Regions from separate parts of the Homo sapiens genome. Here region 1 is linked to region 2. Evidence: promoter capture Hi-C in human tissues and cell types (Jung and others, 2019). All regions are on one chromosome and are shown on one strand. The core of a region is centred on a gene start or on the middle of the fragment in contact, and the rest is flanking DNA. Distances in the headings are between cores, read along the strand shown. Region 1 has its middle 32 kb from the start of DYDC1. Region 2 holds the start of MAT1A (methionine adenosyltransferase 1A).

Region 1 (7,236 bases), core at 2,899-5,398, 35 kb before region 2:
CATTGTACCAGTAAGTGTTGAAACTGGTCCTGTCACCCAGTTATGTTAGAAATATAACTACTGAATACATTTGCAGATTCCAACAGCATTAAAAAGTGCCTATCTCTAAAACAGAGTTTATTTCACTTTTCCTAGAAGTTTTTTATCCTCTTCACTTTTTTTTTTTTTTTTTAAGAGATGGGGTCTTACCATGTTGCCCAGGCTGGTCTTGAACTCCTGGGCTCCAGCCGTCCTCCTGAAGTTCTGGGATTACAAATATGATCCATGATACCTGGCCTCCTCTTCACTTCTTTAGTATAATAAAGTGGCTTCACTGTTGTCCAAATGCTCCAATTTATAGTGTGGGAGTCATTCTTAACTCTTCTGTGGTTGCCATGCTTCTAGACCAATACAGTGAGCCTAATACTCACTCCTCTTTCTCTCATGTTCTGAAGCCGCAAGTGATTGGTTTCTTAACTAGTCATTTTCCTGCTGTCACTGTCTTCAGCTCCTTGTCAAAATATAAAAGATCAGCTTAATACATTATTTAGAATCATGTGGGGCCTTCACAGCTACTTTCCACATGAAATGCTTTAAAAGGGGTTATACCGATTGCAATCAATGGCCATCCACTCTTTACCTAGTTTTTCTCATTTCGACACATCTCTTTTAGTTGTCCCCCTTCTGAGCACTTAGCTAGATTCTGAGTGCATAAACTGGTGTGAGAGGTGGTCCCCTACCACTGAGGTGCACGCATCCTGATGGTGAGCAAGGGCATAGGAAAGAAGATGAATAATGATGCAAGGTTCAACAGACCCCTTTGGTAGCTACTGTGATTAACTCTACATAGAGAGAAGTCACATCGAGCTTCATGGAAGTAAGAGGCTAAACCCAACAAAACCCAGCAAAACACAAAGGCACATAACTGATCGTGGGTGGGCAGGAGGAAAAATGTGAGCAGAGAAATAAATAATGCTGGGAATGCCTGTAGGATGCTTGAAGGTTAACTGATTTGTACAGGGATGTCGTGAGGGAGAAGTTCATAAAGTCGATCTGGACTAGTTTTTGAAGCCTATTAAATAGCAGGCTAAGATATTTAGATGGCATCTGCTGACAATGGGAATAGAGATGGGAATTATACAGTGAAAATCCCTTTGGGGAGTGGTGGATGAGAAAGTGGTGTTATGTTACAGAGATGTTTTAAGATGCTTCATTGGTGGTACTTAGGATTTTTTAGGATAAGGTTGCTGTTAAGATAGTCTAGGCTTAAGGTAATGAAGGTGGTACCTAGGTTGTAGCAGTGGAAATTAATTTAGTGAACACTTACAGTGTGCCTACTATGTATCAAGCATTGTACTGGGTTCTCATGGGAAGCATATACGCAAAACATGGTCTCTGCTCGCACATCATTCACAATTTGTAGGACCTCTACAGGAAACAAGTGATGGGTGTGACGCTTTTCATAGGTGGGCTTGGGAGTTGATCGAATGGGGGTGGAGGACAAGGAAGGACAAGGAAGAACCTGAATCTTGAACAATGGTGGGTCCTTGAGCGCTCAGGTCAGGCAGAGGTGCCGGTCTGGCTTCGAGGGACACTTGCCTGGCTGGTGTCTAACATGGTGTAAAGGAGACACTAAGAACTTCCTTCATGGCTCTCTCACTGAGCCAGGGAGGGGGATGGCAGGGGTGCCACCTGTTTTGGGGACACTAGAATTAACATAATTGACACATATTTCAGGAAGCCATCAGCTGAGCCACAGAAATAACGTATACAAGATAATAATAACCTTGCTCAGGAATAGGGCCGGGCGCAGTGGCTCACACCTGTAATCCCAGCACTTTGGGAGGCCGAGGCAGGCGGATCACGAGGTCAGGAGATCAAGACTATCCTGGCTAACATGGTGAAACCCCGTCTCTACTAAAAATACAAAAAATTAGCTGGGCATGGTGGCGGGCACCTGTAGTCCCAGCTACTCGGGAGGCTGAGGCAGGAGAATGGTGTGAACCCAGAAGGCGGAGCTTGCAGTGAGCCGAGATTGCGCCACTGCACTCCAGCCTGGGTGACAGAGCAAGACTCCGTGTCAAAAAAAAAAAAAAAAAAAAAAAATATATATATATATATATATATATATATATATATTCAGGAATAGAACACTGAAAACAGCAAATAAATGTACAAGCTTTTGAAAATTGAATTAATTTTTGTGAAAGTCAAATTAAACCAACTGTTCTGAGATCAATACTACATTGAATCAAGCTTATTTATAATTGTATATTAAATTGTAACTATGTTACCACTAGATGTCACAAAGATTCAATTTTAAAAGCCTTTTGAGGTAGTCATTTTGAAATATATTTTTCTTAAACAGAAATAAGCCTTTCTAGTATTTGCAAATATAAGGAATAACTTTTAAATTTTTAAATTGTAAAATAGTCCAAATATGCAGAAGAGTACACAGAATAATATAAGCAATGTCTTTTATCCCAATCCAGAATTAACAAATATTACCATTTTACCATATATTGGCGGCTTTTTTAAAAAACAAAATCTTACAGTTGATGTTTTTGTACCCCTCCTTCATGCCATTCCTCTTATTTCTTGCCCACATATAACCATTATCTTAAAATCAGTGGATGTAATTCCCACTTATACATATTTGATGTCTTAATACAAATGTATATTTATCCATAAATAAGACAGTTTTTTGGGTGAGATTTTAACTTAATGCTTTTTTCACTCAGCATTATATTTTCAAGATTTATTCCTGCTGATACATTTATATCTACTTCATTTATTTTAACTGCTGTGTAACATAACCATTGCACCAGTTCTTCTATTGGTGGGTGTTTGGAGTGTTTTAAATGCTTTACTTTTATACATATACCTATGTATGTATCTCTGTGTATTTGAGGGAATCCCATTGTTTGCACATTTTCTCTTGACTCGCAAGTGACACTGTACTAGTAAAGAAGGTCTGTCAGACTCTCCTCCTTAAAAAATGTATCAAGGACCACATTCCTAGTACCCTTCTGACACAATCTCCTGTTGGAAGATGGGAGAACTAATGTGTGAAGTTTCTCTCTTGGTTCTGAAACTTGAGCATGTACCTAAATCTGCTGGAGGGCTTCTTAAAAGGCACTCCCAGGTAAGTCTTTAAGTCTGGGATAGGCTGGAGAATTTGCATTTCTAACAAGCACCCAGATGCTGCTGCTACTGCTGGTCAGCAATCTCACTTAAGAAAATGCTACTCTTGGCTGGGTATACAAGGCACACTTGTGCGATTCCCGGGGCTCAGGTTGTGGCCATTCTCAAGCTACTAGATATTGCTAGATTGTGTTCCAAAGTGGTCATGTTCGTTTACACTCCTACCCGGAGGACAGAGTTCCTGTTATGTCAAATCCTTTCAGATACTTGGTAATCTTACACGTCAACATTTTTTACCCATGGCGGGAGTGCAATGTGGTAGCTTTTTTGTTGTTTAATTAGCATTTCTCTGATTATTAGTGAGGTTACATATCTTTTTATGTTTATTGGACAATGGATTTGCTCTTCTGGGAATTGCATGTTCATATTATTTGCTAATACTTGCTATTGATTTGTTTATCTGACTGAATTTCTTTGCTGGTTATATGTGTTGGGAAATCTCTCAGGTCGTTGGTTGCCTTTTAACTTGGTTTATGGTCTTTATTGTTTGGCAAAAGTAAGGTTTATTTACATGTCTCTTTTTTAATATTTTGTGCTTTTTGATCTTTTGTTTAATAAAGTAATGAACCATTATTAGTTCTGAAAAACTTATGTAGTTTAAGGATTATCTTTAAAAATTATTTCATGTATTTTCGTTTAGATTTTTCAATTAAATTGTCTTCAAGTACAGTCAATAATCAAATTGACAATTTCAAAATCAGGGAAAGCACTCTCTTACCAGTTTTAATGAATAATAAGCATTCTAGCTCATTGCATGTACATTGGTGATATTGCTGAAATGAAATTTTAAGTGCTAAAAACGAGCCTGTCACAGTTTAAACATCTCAACTTACCTACACCCTTGCCATTATTTTTGTTTCTTCAATTTGGGGATTAAACTCTTCAAGGAGAAAGGGAAGCAGCTTTTGAATCAGAGGACTCTAAAGTATAAGTTAGTAGAGGAGAATTTTCCAGGTGGGGGGTGTGCAGTGAGTGACTTCCAGTGTAGCTAAGGCTGATGGTGGTTGGCAGATGGGATTTTATGACTCACAGGAAATGCTTATATGCCCCAGAGTGTCTCCCATGTGGCCGCACTGGCTGGAGGGACACCAACTAGATATTTATTTGTGTCAGTACTATTTTGAAATTTAGTTACCTCTGATGTTATGGTTCATTCATTAAAGAAAGAAAACACCTACTATGTGCCAGTCCTGGTACACAAGATACTTTATTTCAACTTCTTATATAGGATAGATAACAGCTTAAATTTTTACAGGCAGAAATGGAATTTCAGAGAGTTATTTAAGCTTCTGAGATTCTCACAGCTGATCGTTGAGCGAATGGAGATACAAACCCAAATTTTTTTGACTTTAAAACTTTCTCATCATTTCTTAGTAACATTCCATCAGAACCCACTGTGTTCGTAGGCACTTAGCTATTCATACTTTAGTGTAAAGTAGCCAAGCTATTTTACTAAACCATAAAACCAAGCTGGATTGGATATACTAGGGGAATGGATGAGCAGGTGGGCTGGTGCTGAAGGGTTTGAATGTGGCCATAATACCTTCTGAGAGCCTAAAGAACCAGTAGCCAAGGATGGATGGTGTGACAGAGAGGATGGATTTCAGTTGCTCTGTCCTTTTTTATAGGGTATTGCTTCTCATATTGTAATTTCTTATAAATTCCTGGAGCTTTTTCTTAAACTGTAGATTCTAATTTCCAAGCCTAAGGTGGGGCCCCAGAGCCTGCATTCCTAACAAGCTCCCAGGTGATGCTGAGGCTGCTAGTCAAGGAACCACACTGAATAACAAGGGCCTGGGGTATACTCAGAAGAGGAGAGGAGAGGAAACGTGTTTGATCGGCCCTGGGGTTGCTGGAGGAGGTTAGGGCAGAGCAGCAGTTCTAAGGAAGGTAGTAGAGGGCTGCTTTGCGTGGGGAGGTGGGTGGTGGCACAATGCCTCTGGCCCATGCTGCAGGTTCTGAGCCTTTATGATGTCTGATGATTCACTGCACTCAGTACTTCAGTACAAGTGATTCTTGTGAGAGCAGATAATACTGAGCAGTGGAATTAGAGATGTGTGTTTGCTTCATTGTTCAAGGATTCTTTGGGTATAGCTTTGGAACAGTCAGTGTTAAGCTTTCTGCAAATGAGGGTGTAAAAGGCTTTTTTCTAAGCTATGGCGCAGAAGGCATTAGAGTAGCTGGCAGCAGATAAATAAGCAGCCACAATTTGTAGGTAATTACTTATCTTGAATTGGTAAAAATTAAAATAACTTTAGTAGGCAGTTCAGCGTAGGAAAAGGGGACTACTTGGAGTCAGAAGGGCTGAGTTTAGGTGTTGTGCCACTTACCAGTTGTACAAGCCAAAATAAATCACCTAATCTCTTTGGGCCTCAGCTTCCTCCTCTGTTAAATGAGGTCAGCACTCCCCACATCAGAGTCATTGTGACACTCAAATGAGCTGACACCTGTAAGAATGCTTTGTAAACTGCAAGACTCTCCCAGAAAACTGGTCTCAGGGAAAGAGTAGGGATGGAGAGGCTGCCTTCCACATAAAGGTTTTTAAAATCTGCTGTCAAATCCCCAGATGAAATAATTAGGTAGACATTTGAGAACATGAAACACTTGTGACCAAATCGTATGTATTTTCAGAATGAAAGCTTGTGTGAGAGGATCAGTTTGGCCTAAGTTATCTAAGTAATAGTTTCTCCTTTCACTTAAAATACTCAGACTCAAAGTGTACTAATCATTTATATAAAAATATTTTTTAGAGCAAATAAGGGAAAGACAAAAATATCAAGAGAAAACTAAAGCCAGAGTACTTCATGGCTGAATTTTCTTTCTCCACAATTTTCCCCTCAAATGCTCTAACTCCCTATTTCATTGTTTGGGATAGGAATTTGTATAGTGAAGACATTGTATTCTGGGAAAAAGGTGACTTGCTTGTGTCTCTCCCATAGCCTTTGGCTATATTGTGCAACCTTCAGTCAATTGTTTAACCCCACGAGGAAAGTGTGGACTGAGAGCCTGTAAATATCCCAGATTTACCACCCAAGGTGTTGAGTTTAGGGTGAGTTGACTTAGAGCGAAGGAGGTGATATTTTAAATTTCTACACATTTAAACATTTCAGATGACACAATCTTCAGTTTTTAAAAATAAAAGGGATTTACACTGACTGGCTATGGCCATTTTGTTTTTATTTCAAAATGGAAGCTTTGTGTGTACACGTAGGTGTTTCGGGATGCTGACAGATGTCAAATAGAAATTTAAGTACATTATAGCAGTGTTCTATGTAAAGAGCTTTTAGGATTGAGACAGGGTGATAGCTAATTCTCTGAAATGTAGAAACCATGTATATCATATTTAATACATTAATACATTGATGGTTATGAATTGATTCATGGATTTGGCTCAATATATTTTTTCTTTTTTTTTTCTTATTTTTGAGATGGAGTCTCACTCTGTTGCCCATGCTGGAGTGCAGTAGCATGATCTTGGCTCACTGCAACCTCCGCCTGCTGGGTTCAAGCAGCCCGGAGTAGCTGGGACTACAGGAGCACACCACCATGCTGAGCTAAGTTTTGTATTTTTAATAGAGATGGGGTTTCACCATATTGGTCATGCTGGTCTCAAACTCCTGACCTCAGGTGATCCATCCACCTCGACCTCCCGAAGTGTTGGGATTACAGGTGTGAGCCACGGCGCCCAGCCTGTTTTCTGCTTTAAAAATATTAAAAGTTATTCTCCAGCAGAGCTATGATTGGCTGGGCAGAGAATTCTGGAGAGGCACGCATAATTCATAGACTCTATCTATCAACAATTATGCTTGTATAATCCTCTTTCTTCCCCTCTCCAAGGTTACCCTTGATTGGGAGATGAACTGGCCAATAACACTCTGCTCTTCTATTCCACCCATTCCTGCTTTTTCCTCTGAAATTACTGGCTAATTCTAAACACACCCATGCTGGTTCCATTTTTACTTCAGCTGGATATTTATCTTGGTGAGTGTGTTTGCTTATGTAAAATGAGGACTGTTTACTTAATGATACCAACAACCTTCGGAATATTGCTTT
Region 2 (6,847 bases), core at 4,010-6,509:
AATTCTCCACCATTTTCAGTAACATCACTCCTTTCTTTTCCTTTTTGTATCTCATTGCATCTTTATATATTCCTAAAATTTTAAAAATTGTTTTTATCTTTATGAATAGGCTATTACATTGCATATTATTATTTGTCCTTTTTCAAAAGCTGAATAATATATAGCCACAGTTTATCCCTGTCTTTGTATGTGATACTGTGCTTCATGTTTTTCCTGATAAAGGATATTCTGGAGTGGAAGTATTTCGGGGAGATTGATTTGGCCTTCACTATGTAAATATTGTTTGCATGCCTTAATTCAGGGTGAGTTAGCCTAAGGGATGCTCATCTTTCTTCTTTCTGTTTTTTTTTTTTTTTTTTTGAGATGGAGTCTCACTCTGTTGCTCAGGCTGGAGTGCAGTGGTGTGATCTCGGATCACCGCAACCTCCGCCTCCCCAGTTCAAGTGATTCTCCTGCCTCAGCCTCCCGAGTAGCGGGGATTATAGGTGCCCGCCACCATGCCTGGCTAATTTTTGTATTTTTAGTGGAGACGAGATTTTACCCTGTTGGCCAGGCTAGTCTCAAACTCCTGACCTCAGGTAATCAACCCGCCTTGGCCTCCCAAAGTGTTGGAATTATAGGTGTGAGCCACTGTGCCCAGCTGGGATGCTCATCTTTCTAGGTATGAATCATCAGGTAGTTTTAAAACTCCTGGTATGTGCAACATGGTGCCAACCCCCAAAGGGTATGTTGGTGTGGGAAGTTGGCCCCAGCTGATGCCTGACTCAAATGTGAGATGATAAGGATGGGTGCAGAGGTGACTATCTGTGAACACAGAAATGGAGGGGAGAATTCCAAGGCACTTTTGAAAAAGAATTAACAGACTATGGAAACTTGGATATGATGATAGACAATCAGGAATTGAAACCGCCTCCCAGGATTTCAAGCCTCTAAAGTCGGGGGACGAAGTGATTCTACTAAGAAAAACAATACAGTTTTGAAAAATGACAATGCACAGCTGGATTTCATTATATTGCATGAACATCTTAGGGTCTGTTCTTCATTAGGTTATTCCTCAATCAAGGCAAGAGTCTTAACTCTTCTCTCTGATTTTGGAGTCTTCCTTCTCAAATCTAACTTGCACTCTACACTGTCAGAATGAAACCCATTTCACTGCTTTTCTAGAGGACTACTTACTGCTTAGAGTGCCTGGCTTCTCAGCCATTACCTCCCTGCCCAGTTATCTGCTCCCACCCTCCCCAGGTGGGGTTGGGGCAATGTTCTTCTGCACTAACTTCACCAGCTGTGGCTGGGGAAGTTTTCCCTTCCAGACCCTCTCTGTCTTCCTGTTGCCTTTCTAAGTTCTGTAATTCCTTTGGGCCCTAGCTTGAGTCCTGCTTTTTGCATTAAGTCTTTCAACATGTCTTTCTTCCTTTTCAGAATAGGAGTTGTATATGGGTGTGTAGGGGTGGAAAGGTGTTATGCTTTCCTTACCCATCATAAGGGTCACAGCTGATGCTCTTATAACAAAAGACGGATTAACAAGGGAAAAGCATAATACATTTATTTTATCAAAGTTCTGTTTGTTATTTTGATATCTAAATGTACAATCTGAATCAATTTCATCTTTCTTTCATAAGTAACTTATTCATGCTCCAGAGTGGCATCTACAGGAAAAGTTTGTGCTTAAATTAATGAGGCAAAAGCAGTATATCCACTTGAAAATATTTCATTATTTAGCCGTTTAAGTCAGAGGAGCTTCTAGCCAAAGTTTAGAAATGTTTGCACTTAGACAACACCTGCACCCCCCACCTCTGCACCTAGGGTCCTCCCTGTGGCCTCCCCATCAGGCATGGCAGTGCAGAGCCAGCAAAGGGTACCATCTGGCAGGGCCTCCCCACCACCCCTGCGGCCCCGTGGTGCTGCCTAGGGTCAGGTGCCCTCGAAGCTCCATCACTAAACTGCTCAGTGGGACTTACAGGCACTGCTTATTGGAAACAGTCTTCCACTGGATGTTTTATATTCAGAGATTCATCGGGGTAAATCTGACTGAAAGAGAGATTTATTTTGAAAGCCAAGTTTCTCCAGAGGCTTGTCAGTGAAGCTTCAGAGTTCAAGGCTGCTGCATGTCAGTGAGATCAACTGTGTGCCTTTGACACATTGGACTTAGGTAATCAGTCCAGTGTGGAGTTTGGGGCTTGGAGTGGCCATTGGGACAATTCAAGCATAAGAGAGATGGGAACAGGCTGTGCGTAAGGGAGGACTTAATTTGTGTTTATGATGGTAAATTAGGGCCATGAAGTCCTTGTAGGTTCAACTCTCAAAGTAATTACATCTTTGCTAAGATCTGCCAATTCTTTCTGAAGGGGGTAGATTGAAACTACAATTTTAACTCTTGGTTGAATTGCTACTTCTTTTATCAGGTAAAATTCATTGCAAAAGTGAAATCTTTTGGCTAGTTCTGCACTGCCAGAGCCTTCCATTATTATCTTTTTCAGAAACATACTGATGAATAAGGACCTTCACTGCAGCATTATAGTGATGTGAAATAACTGGAGAAGTTGAAAATATTTAACCACTGAGGAATGAATGGTTTAATAATTTATGGTACATCCTTATTGTGGGATACTATTCAAGTATTAAAAAATAAGGCCTGCTGGGTGCAGTGGTTCACGCCTGTAATCCCAGCACTTTGGGAAGCTGAGGCAGGCGGATCACGAGGTCAGGAGTTCGAGACCAGCCTGACCAACATGGTGAAACCCTGTCTCTACTAAAAATACAAAAATTAGCTGAGTGTGGTGGCGTGCACCTCTAATCCCAGCTACTCAGGAGGCCGAGGCAGGAGAATCACTTGAACCCGGGAGGCGGAGGTTGCAGTGAGCTGAGATCATGCCATTGCACTCCAGCCTGGGTGACAGAGTGAGACTTCATCCCCCCCCAATAAAAAAACATAAGGCCTATCTGTATTTAGAGATGTGAACAGAGGGCCACGATATATTGTGGGGGGAAAAAAGCGAGATGCAAAATTATATGTGTATATGTGTATATTCACATATACATACATATGTATACATACCATAATCTATTTTTGTTCAGAGGAAAATCATATGTATGTAAATAGACTGCTTAATAATATTAGCTGATATTTATTAAATTTGTATTGTGTGCTAGCACTTTGTCCAATACTCATCATACCTAAATGACCTCATTTAGTTCTCAAAATAACACTAGGAGGTAGGTAATTATTTAACCCGCTTTACAGCAGAAGAAACAACAGATTAGAAAGGTTAGGAAGCCTTCTCCATGCTGCATGGGAGGTTACAGGCAAAAGTTGGACCCTAGTCCAGAAGCCTGCACTTCCATCCACCATGCTCCGTGTACTGCTTCTTAACATTTACTTGCTAGAAGAATATAAGGCATCCTAGTATTTAGTTGGGGTCTTAAATGAAACTCATACTTGAGATGAGTTTTTAACGAGGTGCCTCTCAGATCCCTCCCTCACACCCTCAATTGGCATCCAGGCTGCCAAAGCCCCCTGCACACATATCTGTGTAACAGATCGTCTCCCCACCCTGACGCCTTCCACCCCATGGTGCTGTTACTTATGGAATTCAGAAGGCAGCTACTGCTTTGTTTTCTGTCTTCCTGATAACTCTAGGAACCTTGAAGAGTACCTGCTACTTACACATCATCTTGTTCTTAAATCAAATTTGGACCATAATTGTTATCATACAATTTTAACTGCTAAGGTCACCTAGTTCTACAGTTCAAATTAAACATTAGCTCATATTGCCTCTAGGTTTAAAACTAATGTACCCAGAAGAAATTTACTAAGGGCCAGCAATGTTGAAATAGCTTAAGTGCAAACAGAGGAGTCCTGTGTGCTGGCAATGACAAGGCGATGTTGTCTAAAGTCCCTATTTGATTCCTCGTTTGTCCATCCCTTCCCAGTGGCCTTTTCCTCTCTGAACTTTCAACAGTCTTGTGCCTAAGCACTTCAGTTCACTCCTTGTTAAATGCCGTTGATTGGCTATGCATATGTAACATCCCTTACTTTATTCCAGAAGAGGTCACCTTAATACTGCTTTAATTCCCTGAAGGGATGATGTTTGGTCATCAGTTAGCAAAACTCAAGCTTTGGAGCACCAGAATGTGTGCCAGAAAAAATTTTTCCAAATGCTTGATAATAAACTCAGAGGGGGGTTTGGTCACCAGAATTGTTAGGTGAGGCTATTGCTTCCTAACTTTTGCTTCCCACAGTCCAAGCTTTGATGCACAAGGTTATGGTTGATTACTTTTTATTGCATTCTAGTGGGAACTGGTTTCTCCACCCATCCTCATTTTCTGTGGTCTCAATTCCCCATTGTTCCTTGGGTCTGAGGATGCAGCTGGATCTGAGAGTGTGAGACGCTGTCATTTAGTACATGAACTAAAGATATAATCCTGTTTACTACTTTTTTTGGTCAAAGCAAAAAATAATGCAAGAGTTATGTGAACACGATGTTTATTACATGTATAGAACTGAATATGTAGATGTTTATAATCCGGAAGCTTTGGGAAACTGGACTTTGATAATTTCCCTGTAATGAATCCATTTCTCAAAAGCATTTTTTTCTAAAAAAAACACACACACACACACACACACACACACATTGTTCTCTGTAACCTCCCCAGATAGATACTTTTTAAAGATCTTGCTTGTTAAAATGCCTGCCAGCCTTTTAGAGAAGTTGACAGGTTAGGTGGTTTCTGTTAGCAGAAACACGTGGACTCAAAGCTTTTCCTCTAAAATGAATCTGTTGTGTAACATCACAGCTGGCTCAGAATACAGGTGCGTGCTCCTGCTCTCCCTGAGAAGATAGAATGGGAAGAGACCAATCCAGATGAGACGCAGGGGAGGAGGGGACACCCAACAGCAAAGGCACTGTTGCAATCTTAGCCTAAACCATATCTCTGAGAAAGAGTTTCTTGTTGCCTGCTTGTATCTCTGGGTGATCACAGACCCCTGCTCTCCAAGGTGGGTTGTGAACTCTGGAGCACTACCAAGATTGGCTAAGAGCTGAAGGAGAGTCCCAAAGGAGCTTCAATTCTGCAGAACTATACAGCCTTCTTTACCTTACCTTGACCAGGTGCTTAGAGTTTGGAAAGTCAGGGATAAGAATTGAAATTCCTCCAGGTAAGAAGACCCCCCTCTTAGGAAATGGACTCCTCCAATTTTCTCACATGATTTTTCAGGCACTTTCGCTTTTCCATATATAGGAGTCGCTCAGGAGCAAGCTGTGGCAAGCTGGAGGGAGGGACACATCCCGTGTTCCATCCACTCCCTCCCTTCTCAGCAGTCCTCGCCTGTTCTCACGTGCTCACAGGCAGTTAGGCAGAAGTGATCCCCGTGGCTCTGCCAAAGACAAGCCTGTTGGGTTGAAAGAAGAAGAAGAAGAAGAAAAAAAAACTCAGGCAAAGTCACAGCCTCAAAATTGTTCACTGAAAGAAGCGTGAGTGGAGAAGTGTGAGAAGATGAATGGACCGGTGGATGGCTTGTGTGACCACTCTCTAAGTGAAGGAGTCTTCATGTTCACATCGGAGTCTGTGGGAGAGGGACACCCGGGTAAGTAGGCTGTCTTGGACTGACTGGAAAACGATCATTCCAAGCCTATACTGAGGGAGTCACTTACAAATGGTTTTAATTTGACACATAATAATTGTGCATATTTATGGGGTACCGTGTGTTGTTTTGATCCATGAGTATAACATTTAATGATCAAATTAGGATAATGGGCATACCCATTGCCACAGACATTGACTACTTCTTTGTGGTGAAAACATTCAAAATTCCCTCTTCTAGCCCTTCAGTCACCCTACTGCGCAATGGAATGCCAGAGCTCATTCCTCCTATCTGACTGTAACTTCGTACCTGTAGGAGTCACTTTTACCAGAGCTCTTCAGAGCAATGTGTGTGAGTTACCAGAAGGGATCTCTAGAGAAACAGCATGGAGTAGTTTCATAAAACAGTCCCTCCTGATGAAGCCGTGCTGTGGCCCACCACCAGCACGCCAGCACAGTGGGTCCAAGACAGGGAGTAGCAGCTGGCTGGCTAAGAGTATGACACATGCAAAATATATGATCAGGTCTTAACTTTTTATATGTATTTTTTTTTTAGGAAAGCTTTAATCTATTATCCATGGCCAATTTAAGTCAACAGGGAATGTTCCTGAAACAAGACCATGGGTGACTAAATTTTGCATGTGAAGCATGTGCAACTTAGGCATGAAAGCCTGCACCCTGGTCACTGCTGGGGTAGACCTCTAGGTGCTGGGGACTCAGTAACGTTCTCTAAGAGCAGAATAGAAGACCTTCTAAACAGGAAGAAAATTTAGGCATTGATTTTGGTCCCTGAAAAGTAGGTAGACTGTGATGTGCGGAAGTGAGAGAAGCTTCCTTGATGACGGTGAGAACTAGGACCAGGACATTCAGAGCCTCAAGTGTAGGACAGTGGTTCTCAAACTTCAGGGAGCTTCAGAATCCCCCAGAGGGCTTGTCAAGACAACAGAGGGCTGGGCCCCACCCTCCAGAGTTTCTGATTCAGTAGGTCTTGGGAGAGGCTCGAGAATTTGCATTTTTGACAAGTTCCCAGGAGATGCTGATGCTCTGGGGTGAGAACCACTGCTCTTGGAGACCCCTGGGGGATAGATGTACAGACTTCTATAGTTAAGTCCCTCTTCAAAATTCATTCGAGTGTTTGCTAACTTATTGCCAAGTCTGCCTTTTTCCATCTTCCTTGCTCTTGTTCTTCCTCAAAGATATTTATCTTTCCTACCTTGTAACTTGGCTTTGGACACCTCAGTGCACTACTCCTTCCATATACTTTAGC

Evidence for each region. The method cuts DNA at HindIII sites, captures the fragments that hold promoters and counts their contacts. A contact is called where the count stands out against the background at its distance.
Region 1: a fragment that was not itself captured here is called in contact with the fragment with the promoter of MAT1A in region 2 in 3 of the 25 tissues and cell types used here (hippocampus, liver and pancreas).

What each region holds. Positions count from the first base shown.
Region 1 is chr10:80,321,259-80,328,494 of GRCh38, reverse strand. No RefSeq gene overlaps it. Among named protein-coding and RNA genes, the nearest start is that of DYDC1, 32 kb to the left of the region's middle. The HindIII fragment of the contact is 3,902 bases long and covers 2,198-6,099 here.
Region 2 is chr10:80,288,070-80,294,916 of GRCh38, reverse strand. MAT1A (methionine adenosyltransferase 1A) reads left to right here and starts at 5,259. Exons shown (of 9, transcript NM_000429.3): 1 at 5,259-5,584. The coding sequence starts at 5,494. RefSeq lists an enhancer at 5,130-5,424. The HindIII fragment of the contact is 4,006 bases long and covers 3,100-6,847 here.